Regions from separate parts of the Homo sapiens genome. Here regions 1, 2 and 3 are each linked to region 4. The links are contacts of gene promoters, found by promoter capture Hi-C in blood cells and fetal thymus (Javierre and others, 2016). All regions are on one chromosome and are shown on one strand. The core of a region is centred on a gene start or on the middle of the fragment in contact, and the rest is flanking DNA. Distances in the headings are between cores, read along the strand shown.

Region 1 (2,700 bases), core at 64-2,563, 5.8 Mb after region 4:
CGGCCCTCCGCACATGGTGCGAGCCATGCGCGGGGCGTGCGGCCTGCGCCAGGCCAGCCGGTGGAGCTCACCACGAGGGGGAGGGGTGGACCGCAAAGCCAGCGTCTCCTTGTGCCTAGGTCTTTGCATAGTCCCGGCAGCCCAGGTCCGCGCCTCACCCGGAGCGAAGAAATTTCTAGTGTGGGACCCGCTCCGCCCTCCTTCTAGGGGCGGAGCCTGGAGCGACGGGGTCTGAGCCATCAGAGGGTGGAGGGGCCGCAGCCTTCCGAGGGTGGAAGATGGAGGCCGCGTTCCCTCGCCCGCCCGGCAGGCGTCACCTTGATGGCCTGCAACCCCTCCCTGCCTCATTCTTAGTTCAAGATCGTCTTTAGTCTCGCTGTACGTAACTGTCAATCTCGCTGGTGTATAATTTATACTCCCGGGGGCCTTGTAAATCCGAAAAGCCATGTCGCTCTCCTACAAGTCCCTCTCTCCCACTTAAATGCTTTCTCCGATGATGGAAGCTTCATTTGATTGAAAACATTGTTGTAAATGAGTTTTCTCTTAGATGTCCACTTGTAAGACTAGTGGAAGGCACCTCAGTGTATGTGTTAGAGTATTGGTACTTAAACGGAATGCCTCTTGGTTTTCCTTTTCAGGCGTCCCTTTCCCTTGCACCTGTTAACATCTTTAAGGCAGGAGCTGATGAAGAGAGAGCAGAGACAGCTCGTCTGGTAAGCCTTGTTCTAAGCATTGTTTTAAAGATAAAACTGGAGGCCAGGCGCGGTGGCTTACTCCTGTAATCCCAGTACTTTGGGAGGCCGAGGTAGGCGGATGAACTGAGGTCAGGAGTTCGAGACCAGCCTGGCCAACATGGTAAAACCCCGTTTCTACTAGAAATACAAAAATTAGCCGGGCGTGGTGATGGGCACCTGTAATCCCAGCTACTCGGGAGGCTGAGGCAGGAGGATCGCTTGAACCCAGGAGGCGGAGGTTGCAGTGAGCTGAGATCGCGCCATTGCACTCCAGCCTGGGCGACAGAGCGACACTCTGCCTCAAAAAAAAAAAAAAGTAAATAAAGATAAAACTGTACTTGAAGACTGTAAAGTTGATTCTGATAATCTCCTTGGTTTTTACTCCAGACTTCTTTTATTGGTGCCATCGCCATTGGAGACTTGGTAAAGAGCACCTTGGGACCCAAAGGCATGGTAAGAAAAATAGAAAAGTTTTATATTTTAATATTGTTTTAGAGCGCTTGGTGGAAATATAATAACAAGCGTATTAAAATGCTTTTTAATCTTTAAAACGTTTAATTATAAAAGACAAGTATGTTCTCCTTAGTAAAAATCAGAGTCCCCAGAATCACCATCCCCAATCCCATGCCCCTCCCCAATGACAAGTACTGTTATCATTTGCACGTACATCTTCTAATATTCTGTTTATGTAGAAGTATGTGTACTTCATTATGTATTTTATACTCATGTAACATACTGTTTTATAAAACAGATACTATTTATCAATACTTTTTTGTAGCTTGCTCTTTTAAATTCCTTTCAGTGTAAGTAGATAACACTGCCCCTTTAACTGTCAAATATTATCCTGTACCTTAATTATTTTATAATTTAATTATGGCTGTATTGATAGTTTCTTTCCATTGTTTTTGCAGTTACGGTGTTGAAACAAAAACTAGTGTCTACCTGTGCTTCTAGTGTTTCTAGGGGTAGATACATGGTTTGGTTACGTGGTGTATGTATTGAAAACATTTGATGAATGGATACCACAAAATAGCTATCCAGAGTGTTTATACACTAGCACTGTGTGAGAATACTGATTGATCCATGCATTCTTCAAGATGTGCTTATGTCTTAACTTGAACCAATTATGTTCCCTTTAGGACAAAATTCTTCTAAGCAGTGGACGAGATGCCTCTCTTATGGTAACCAATGATGGTGCCACTATTCTAAAAAACATTGGTGTTGACAATCCAGCAGCTAAAGTTTTAGTTGGTAAGTCTGAATATACTTTTTCACCAACCTAATAATACTGTTTGTTAACATTTTTGAAATAACTTTATAAATAGGCTGTGTTGACCAATCGTACTGTCAATTGATGTCCACTAGTTGTTAATTATCGTTGTTAAAATACAAGCTTCAGGAGTGCCCGTATGTTGGTGGTAAAACTGTTGCATTTCAGACCTCAGAGTTCCAAATAATTTGTTGAATGAGGAACCCTGGTAAGTTTAGATTGGTAGTGAATATTTTTGGAGAATTTAGTAAGCAAAGAAGCAATTTTGAGTTAATAACTAATTTCTTTTTCTAGATATGTCAAGGGTTCAAGATGATGAAGTTGGTGATGGCACTACCTCTGTTACCGTTTTAGCAGCAGAATTATTAAGGGTAAGAGCAACTAAGCAACTCTTTTTTCCTACTGTGTTTTTGAGTATCAGAGGTAATCTAGTCCTTACTTCCTCTGTCTTTACTATTGAGGAGTGCTTAATAATTTTCTATTTATAACTTTTGTTTTATAACTTTATTAATAGGAAGCAGAATCTTTAATTGCAAAAAAGATTCATCCACAGACCATCATAGCGGGTTGGAGAGAAGCCACGAAGGCTGCAAGAGAGGCGCTGTTGAGTTCTGCAGTTGATCATGGGTTTGTATAGCAAAGTACTACTGTTCTAAACATTTAGTGTTCTTTCATAACATGCTTAATGCAAGAAAT
Region 2 (2,700 bases), core at 157-2,656, 6.0 Mb after region 4:
TGCAAGTCACAGTAGGGGTTAAAGGAAACTGTTCTTAAGGAATATGGAAGGTAGGGCCTTATAATCATTCCCATATCTTTTATAAGTTCTTCAAAATGTAGAACGCACTTTACATATTTTAATGAATGTCAACTAAGACAAAGTGCTAGGATAGTTGAGTAGTGGAGAGGAAGGACAGATGGATAGTGGGTAGAGATATTTGTGCATTGAGGTAATGAGGGAAAGCTTTGAAGATATTCCAAGGGAGTACGCTTTTTCACACTAAACTTTTTTCCGATATAATTCTGATTAAGATGCAGTTCATCAAAGGATAGTAAATTGGTTACTACGCATTTGATATCCTAAAAACAAAATATCTGAGCTTTTGTAAACTGCTTTCTAGCTTGTTTCTCCTTTTTTATGCTACTATCCTTAGTTGTACCAGATGGTACTCTTTTTAAAAATTTTATGCTTTTATAATACTGAGTACCTCTTTTTTGGTATTTATGAACTTTGATATTTGTGTTGTATTTGTAATTGTTTCTAGGGCCCTAGAAACATGTTTATTGGCAAGGTGGTCTCTTCCTCTAGTCTACAAGTGCTTCGAGAGTAGGGCTTACCTCATTTTATAGCTTTAACATCGGGCCAGGTAAGTACTGTGCTGTGTTTGGTGATGGATGATCAGTTGAAGAATGTTAGGATGTTTTGAAGCTGCTCTAGCAGTAGAAATTGAAATGAACATTGAGAAATGAAGGGACAAAGGAAGGAAGAGGAAGATATTTATACAACTGGGAGCATTAACTTGCTATCTCTATTTTCCCTTCTGCTTTCCTTTTCAACTTACCACTAAATGAGGTAGTTTTATAAGCTTACATCGTACATAGTCATGGTTAGAGAAAAGTGGAAAAAGTAATCTGATTTATCTTAGAATATAGGGCAACACGAAATTAGATAACTATAGCCGTAAACTGATATTACTTAGAGGAAAAAGAATGAAAATTATTCAAATAGTTCAAGTTCATGAAAGATTTGATGCTTGTCGTTAACAGTAGGATTGTAAATATAATCATAATGGCAGTTGATGAAATTCCTCTGAGGGGTATGGATACATACACAAATAAGTATATGAATTGACAGCTTAGTATGAAGAAACTATTCAAGAATGTGAGAATGCCCTATGAGCATAAAGGAGCATATAGATGATAGCTTAGAACCACTTAAATAAGTGAATTGTAATTTGATATGCCCAGATAAAAGTAATAGTATTGAATATTTGTTTGGGAGCATCTGGTTGTCAGATAAGGATAAAGTATAAAAGAAAAACCAAAATAAGTTTGAAAAAACAATAAGCAAATTTGTATCAATTCCCTGTGGGGAAAAGAATCATATTTGAACTACATGCCTCATAAAGACTAGTTTTCCCTTTCTTTCCTTTTACCTAAGATAAATAAAGATACCTTCTGATTTGTAAGACAAACCCCTCAGTATGCTTTTGCTATTTCCCCCATTACATTTTTTTCTTTCTTAGATCTTTATAAAATCATACATTTATGTTGTGCTTTACAATGTATACATTTTTACATTGATATGCCATTTGATTTTCTCAAATGTAGGCAGGGGAGATAATATCACTACCATTATAGATGTCAAAACTGAACCTTAGAGAGATTAAATGACTTGCGTCAGTTCACACAGCTTGTCAGTGACAGAATCTGAACTAGAAGGAAGGTTTTCTGAAGTTAGTCTGTTAAAATGCTCAGGTTTTCTCAAACTTCAATTTCTCCAGTTTTGATACTCTCGCAAAGTATTTACTGTTTCATTTCTATCTTTTTCAGCAAAAATGTAGCCTGAATAACTGTCTCCACTCTTTACCGCTTTGCTATTCATTCCTTCTCTAAAGACTCTTGTTTATTTATTTAGTCAGTGCGTATTTCAGCACCTGTTGAATGTTTAGTTGGCATATATTCTTAAGAGAATATGTAAAATGAAGCTTCCATTATTGAGAAAAAGAAATTTGGAAAATGATTTTTTTAAAAAATTATACTTTTAAGTTCTGGGATACATGTGCAGAATGTGCAGGTTTGTTACATAGGTATACACGTGCCATGGTGGTTTGCTGCACCGGTCAACCCATCATCTACCTTAGGTATTTCTCCTAATGCTATCCCTCCCCTAGCCCGCCACTCCCCCACAGGCCCTGGTGTGTGATATTCCCCTCCCTGTGTCCGTGTGTTCTCATTGTTCATCTCCCACTTATGAGTGAGAACATGCGGTGTTCTGTTAATTTAAATAAATATTTAATTACAAATAAATATTTGTAATTAAATATTAGCTCATTGTATTATTACAAATAATTATTTGTAATTAAATATAATATTAGCTCATAAGTTCAGAACATTTTCTGAAAACTGTCAACATAACACACTGCAATAACTAACATCTCTACACATGTCAGGTTGTACATTGAAGTGTTGTGGAATTAGGCCGGGCATGGTGGCTCACACCTGTAGTCCCAGCACTTGGGAGGTTGAGGCAGACAGTTACTTGAGGTCAGGAGTTCGAGACAAGCCTGGTCAACATGGCAAAACCCCATCTCTACTAAAAATACAAAAAATTAGCTGGGTGTGGTGGCAGGCGCCTGTAATCCCAGCTATTCAGGAGACAGATGTTGCAGTGAGCCGAGATTGTGCCACTGCACTCCAGCCTGGGCGACAGAGCGAG
Region 3 (2,700 bases), core at 111-2,610, 6.5 Mb after region 4:
CAAGCAAAACATTTTCTACCTACACCAGTACCACTAGGAGTTGAAATAAATTCACACAATGTCTGCTGATATGTCAAAACACCTTACCTTCAAAAACATGACAGTTACCTTTTATTTTATAGTATGCTTGTGTTTCTTCCTATTTCTTGCTTTTGACCTTCAATGATAAATGTAAACTGGATTACAGTGATTCTTTTGTAAGTAAAAGGTGACTTTTTAAAAGAAACAACCAATGGAAATAGAAATTTTATTTACTTCAAATTAACTGTACTTTACTCAAATAGAAAAGAATAATTTTCACATTATGAAGCTACACAATTCCAAAATACACATGCTGAGGCTCTTTTTAAGTCCGAATTGTCTAGTAATTACAAAAAAGTGAAGAGTTTACAGATATACAAGGAAATAAAGGCGAATTATTGCAAAGAAAACAAGTTTAATTTCACTTTGAATGACAACGATTTTTCTGGAAAGCAGATACTTCACTCCTTTAAGTTTCCACCCAAGCCACAATAATTTCAAACGGTCTTGCGGATGACCCAGCTGGTCACTCTTGTTTATGTGGGGACTGGAGGTAATGAGAGCCAAAAAAAGTGCTATAAACCTAATTTGGCTAGAGCAAGTTCACACGACACGACCGTGCTTTAAAAACTTGCTCTCCATTATGTACTTCCTTCCATCAGGTTGGGGAAAAAAAAATGGTGGGGATGGTGAGTAAACACACCAGTGGTTTCATCAGAGGGGAACTCACTACTCAGGAGGTGACGGTGACGTGGTGCCGGTCCCTGAAGTACGCGCACAAGCTCCGGAGGTTGCGGGAGCTGAGGGAGGAAACAGGGACACGATCAGATTCGCTCCAGGTGGCGGGAGTGAGGAGGGGAGGAGTGACGAGGCGGACGTGCGGGGGCGGGGGTGTCCAACACAAACACAAACACAAACACGAACACGAACACGCTCAGCGTCCCCGGGGAGGGCGGACTGAAGCCACCTCACCATTCATCGCCCCTGGACCCCGCAGTCCCCCTCGGACTCAGGGCCAGAGCCTTCTGCGAAGCAACCTAGCCCCAGGGAAACGGTAGCGGCCGCAGAAGCCCCGCTCTCTGTAACGGCCGCGGAGGAGCAGCAAGCCTCCCTGTGAGTCGGTGGGAGACAAGACGGAGCGGCGGTAAGGGCGGTAGGGAAGTGAAGCGCCTCTCTCCACCTTGTTAGAAGCGCGCTGAAAGCGGCCTGCCTACCCACCCCATCGCTGCCGTTTTGCAGTCGTCGCTCCCACCTTCCGCTGCCGCCTGGAGGGAAGCCGGAGCGACGGGGGTCACGGCGGCGGTCAGAGGGTAAAGGTCTTGCTCCCAGCAGCCTCCGCGGTGGATACGTCGCCATCTTGGATCCGCGGGACAAGAAAATTCATGCGGTGAGTTTTTGGTAAATTTTCGGAAGTCTGGCAGCGGGGCGCGCGGCGGGGGCGGCAGATTCGGGGCCCCCGCAAGGCGGGGGAATGCCCCGGGGCCGGTCCGGTCGCGCCCAGGGTCCGCCGGTAGCGTCCCGGCCCACCGCTTCCCGTTGCTTTTGTCTCGGCTCCAATCGAGAGACGGAGAGCGGAGCGGGCGGGGAGGGGGGTGGCGGCGGTGGAGGGAGGGAGGGGGTGTGTATGGGGGTGGTGGTGGACCGGACGTAAAGCGTCGCTGTACTCGGGCCGCTGCAGCAGCAGCAGCTCCAGATCCTAGGCCCGGTCCCATCCGCGAGTGGTGGGGCTTCCCCAGACTCCACTCCCCTAGGCTCCCGCCAGCGCGGAGGAGCCGCTGCCGCCGCGCTGCTTCCTGGGGGAGAAGAGAAGGCGGCAGCGGCCGTGGCCGTGGCCGACGAGCTCGAGCCCGCTTTAGACGGCTCTGCCGCCTTCCCGGCAGCTGGTGCTGTCTGTGGCTTCTTACCTTCTCTCAATACACGTATATCATCTGCCAGTTATGTGTATTTCTGTTAGTGTGTTTGCAAGTGTCAGATGGGAGACACTGGACTGGCTAACGGGTGTCAGGATCCTGCAGGCCCTGGGATACCGAAGGCTGTGCATGGTGGAGGGAGAAGGAATGCAACTGCGATGCCGCCTCTGCCACCGCACCAGGAAGGTGAAGCTTCCGTAGTGTCGTAGACTGAGTCCGGATGATCCTGGGGCGGCGGAGGAACCACAGACGCTTCTGTCTGTGAAGTTGCAAGTCCTGGGTTTCTACTTCCGCAGGGGCCTCTCCACCTTTTGCTGTCGTAGGTCTCGCTTAAAAGTTTAACAGAAGAAAAGAGTAGGGTTAAAAGAGGCCTTTGTAGTTCTTCATTGAAGCACTGTTGTCTGTCCGGGTGAAAGCTGATAACTCTTGGTAACTGTGGTCCTTAGCAAAAGAGAATTGGAGTTTTCTTTTATACAAAGTATTTCCAAGGTTTTAGACCTTATATTTATTCCAGGCCTGTAGGTACGGTATTACTACCACAAAAGTCTTACATTAAGGGTACCACCCTCTCAGAGGGAACCTAAACATCAACTTCCTTCGAATCCTTGGAGACATCTTCACTTTTCAACATCCGGAAGACTGAGTGCAACATATTTTGTTTCATTTTCATAAAAGTCTTGGTCAGAGAATCCCACTCCTTTTAAAATCGTTTGGGCAATTCCTCATAATTAAGTACACTGCTTTGAACCCTTAGTTCTTGGCGAAATGG
Region 4 (2,700 bases), core at 194-2,693:
TGTAACCTAAATACATTTTTAAAAGCTTATCATCAAATTATGCAGTCATTTGCAGTTTGAGGTAAAACAACTCCTTCATTTTCATGGCCCTCTCCCCTATTCAAGATGACATCAACTGCATATTAGTTTTACCTTGTATGCATTTCTCAATAGTAAAACCATTAGTCAGTAGCATCTGAATGTACATTGATACAGTGGGTGTTTTGTGGTAATTATAAGGTAATTACTTCCTATCCTTAAATAATTGTCATTTCCACAAACAAACAAAATAGGATAAACAACAATACAGCATACATAAAACAACTGCCATCTCCCTAAGACACCAGAATAGCCTGTTAATCAAGGAAAGCTAAATTTATTAAATCTACTACAGTAAGGGAGGCCACACTTTGACAGAAGCTTGGCAGTCTCAGAAGGAGAAGGTTGGGGGTGATATTTATAGGATTTGGGGAGTCTGAGCAAAAATGGTTTAAAACAGGTCTTTTGAGGCAGGGAACTGTTTGGGGGATTGGGTAAAGTGTTTGACCTAATAGTTTAGGGTCGGTGCTAGAGTGACCAATTTTACTGATTTCCTAGGACTTTCTCAATTTTAGCACTAAAAATCCTCCAACTGGAGAATCCTTACAGTCCTGGGCAAACTGGGACCATTGGTCACCCTAATTAGCAGACATACCGTCGCAAGACTGCTGGGTAATTTGAACAGTAGTACCAGAGCAACTGACAAAACATTGTAGCCCATCTTCCCAAGGCTGGATACAAAGTTTTCTGAAGCATTCACATTTACAGCCTCTATTTGACAAAATACTGCATGCCTATGTGCGTTCAACTCACATAATAATGAAACTTAACTTTAAAAATGTTTTTATTGCAGTAAGGTATATAAAACATGAATTCGACAGTTTAACTATTTCTATGCATACAAGTGAGTGGTATTAATTACATTCACAATGTTAAGCGACCATCATCACTTAATTTTTTTAAAGGACGTTTATATTCACTCATCTATCAACGTAGTAGGCACTGTCCTAGGCGCTAGGGATTCCATGCAGAGCAAAAAACGTCACAGTCCATGCCTTCACATGGCCTTCATGGACCACCGCGGGTGTTCTTTTTCCCCCGAGTCTTTATGTACTTGGGAAAAGTGGCCAGGGTTGAAAGGTGCAATGAGTACACGGCAGAGGTCAGAGAGGTTCCCACTCAGCCCGGCGTCTGGAAGCAGCGTGGGGTAGGGGCCGCTCCAGTACCCCCTCCTCCAGTGTCGAAGGTGGGCAGGCCCTCGGCCGGGTGGATGAGCCGCGACTGGAGGGGGCGGGGCCTGGGCGGGAGGCGGGCGGTGGGCGTGTCCGGGGCGGGGCTGTACCGGGCGCTGGGCGGAGGAGCCTTGGCTGGGGACTGCCTGGAAACGGGCTGGGCCTGCCTCGGACGCCGCCGGTGTCGCGGATTCTCTTTCCGCCCGCTCCATGGCGGTGGATGCCTGACTGGAAGCCCGAGTGGGATGCGGCTGACGCGGAAGCGGCTCTGCTCGTTTCTTATCGCCCTGTACTGCCTATTCTCCCTCTACGCTGCCTACCACGTCTTCTTCGGGCGCCGCCGCCAGGCGCCGGCCGGGTCCCCGCGGGGCCTCAGGAAGGGGGCGGCCCCCGCGCGGGAGAGACGCGGCCGAGGTAGGACTGGGTCGGCGGCTTCCTTCCGGCTCTGCGCTCCTGGCTGGGGCTGCTGGGCGGCTGGGGCCGGGTCCCCGCACCCGGCTCTCAAGTCCGGGATTACCCGCAGGGCCTGAGAAGCGCTTTGCCCCCTACAGCCTCTCGAGCCAGCCCTTGGCTCGGAATTGGAGAATGGTCCTCATTCTTACCCAGATCTCACACGCCGTCCCCGCTCCCGATCCCAGGGGGTGACAGGCGCGCACGCCTTTCAAACACGTGTTAAAATCCAAGACGTCGTCTCAAATGCCAGAGATTTGCGGGAATGCTCCTGGAAGGCCTCAAAATCGCCGCAAGGTTTAAGACATCCGTTTCCATGTTGAAACAAAGCCCTCTCTAATCCTGCAGTGACCATAAGGCAGACTTTACCTCCAAATTCTGGTCCCCTGTCCTGTGTTTTAACTTGTGTTAAGATCAGACTCGGCTTTCTCTTTCCCTTTATTCAGAATTTTGCACGATAGTATCTAAGACTGGTGAACACTACACTCTGAAGTCAGTTTTTTGTGCATAGGTTACCTGTATACAATGGATAAAAATAATTGCAAAAGTTAAGCTTGTAACTTGATACATATTATCCTGTTATTTTTAAAGGTTTTGTGTTGGGGAAGAGAATTTTCCTGTCTCAAGGTAGCATTTTATTTCTAAGACTTTTCAGAGTAAAAAAAGTTCAGTAAAAAAATTGCTGATTTTCTTTTTTGTTTTCATTGTGTATTACCAGTTTAAATTCAGTTGCTGTACCTCTCAGAAATTAAAGTTAGGATGAAATTAGAACTAACACTTAATTTAAATGATTTGAATTTACCTACAACTGCAATAATACCTTACTGGTAAACACTTACTCTTTTTAAAACAGAACAGTCCACTTTGGAAAGTGAAGAATGGAATCCTTGGGAAGGAGATGAAAAAAATGAGCAACAACACAGATTTAAAACTAGCCTTCAAATATTAGATAAATCCACGAAAGGAAAAACAGATCTCAGTGTACAAATCTGGGGCAAAG

Evidence for each region. The method cuts DNA at HindIII sites, captures the fragments that hold promoters and counts their contacts. A CHiCAGO score of 5 or more calls a contact.
Region 1: a fragment that was not itself captured here is called in contact with the fragment with the promoter of RXYLT1 in region 4 in 2 of 17 cell types (total B cells and activated CD4 T cells); the score reaches 7.0 in total B cells.
Region 2: a fragment that was not itself captured here is called in contact with the fragment with the promoter of RXYLT1 in region 4 in 4 of 17 cell types (non-activated CD4 T cells, activated CD4 T cells, total CD4 T cells and 1 more); the score reaches 9.7 in non-activated CD4 T cells.
Region 3: a contact is called between the fragment with the promoter of CNOT2 here and the fragment with the promoter of RXYLT1 in region 4, in 3 of 17 cell types (non-activated CD4 T cells, total CD4 T cells and activated CD4 T cells). The highest score is 9.9, in non-activated CD4 T cells.

The regions. Positions count from the first base shown.
Region 1 is chr12:69,585,632-69,588,331 of GRCh38, forward strand. CCT2 (chaperonin containing TCP1 subunit 2) reads left to right here. Exons shown (of 16, transcript NM_006431.3): 2 at 639-713; 3 at 1,122-1,187; 4 at 1,874-1,985; 5 at 2,299-2,375; 6 at 2,519-2,631. Among named protein-coding and RNA genes, the nearest start is that of CCT2, 1.5 kb to the left of the region's middle. RefSeq lists an enhancer at 1-198. The HindIII fragment of the contact is 1,624 bases long and covers 502-2,125 here.
Region 2 is chr12:69,741,982-69,744,681 of GRCh38, forward strand. The region is part of intron 1 of RAB3IP (RAB3A interacting protein); the gene reads left to right. Among named protein-coding and RNA genes, the nearest start is that of RAB3IP, 4.5 kb to the left of the region's middle. The HindIII fragment of the contact is 1,122 bases long and covers 846-1,967 here.
Region 3 is chr12:70,242,073-70,244,772 of GRCh38, forward strand. It overlaps CNOT2 (CCR4-NOT transcription complex subunit 2), which reads left to right and starts at 1,361. Exons shown (of 16, transcript NM_014515.7): 1 at 1,361-1,408. It overlaps PRANCR (progenitor renewal associated non-coding RNA), which reads right to left and starts at 1,288. Exons shown (of 5, transcript NR_120460.1): 1 at 1,240-1,288; 2 at 752-821; 3 at 109-157. RefSeq lists enhancers at 647-1,846, 1,021-1,220, 1,951-2,090 and silencers at 780-1,319, 1,391-1,650. The HindIII fragment of the contact is 4,785 bases long and covers 1-2,121 here.
Region 4 is chr12:63,778,466-63,781,165 of GRCh38, forward strand. RXYLT1 (ribitol xylosyltransferase 1) reads left to right here and starts at 1,444. Exons shown (of 6, transcript NM_014254.3): 1 at 1,444-1,664; 2 at 2,554-2,700. The coding sequence starts at 1,496. RefSeq lists silencers at 1,263-1,492, 1,509-1,784, 1,513-1,812. The HindIII fragment of the contact is 1,854 bases long and covers 398-2,251 here.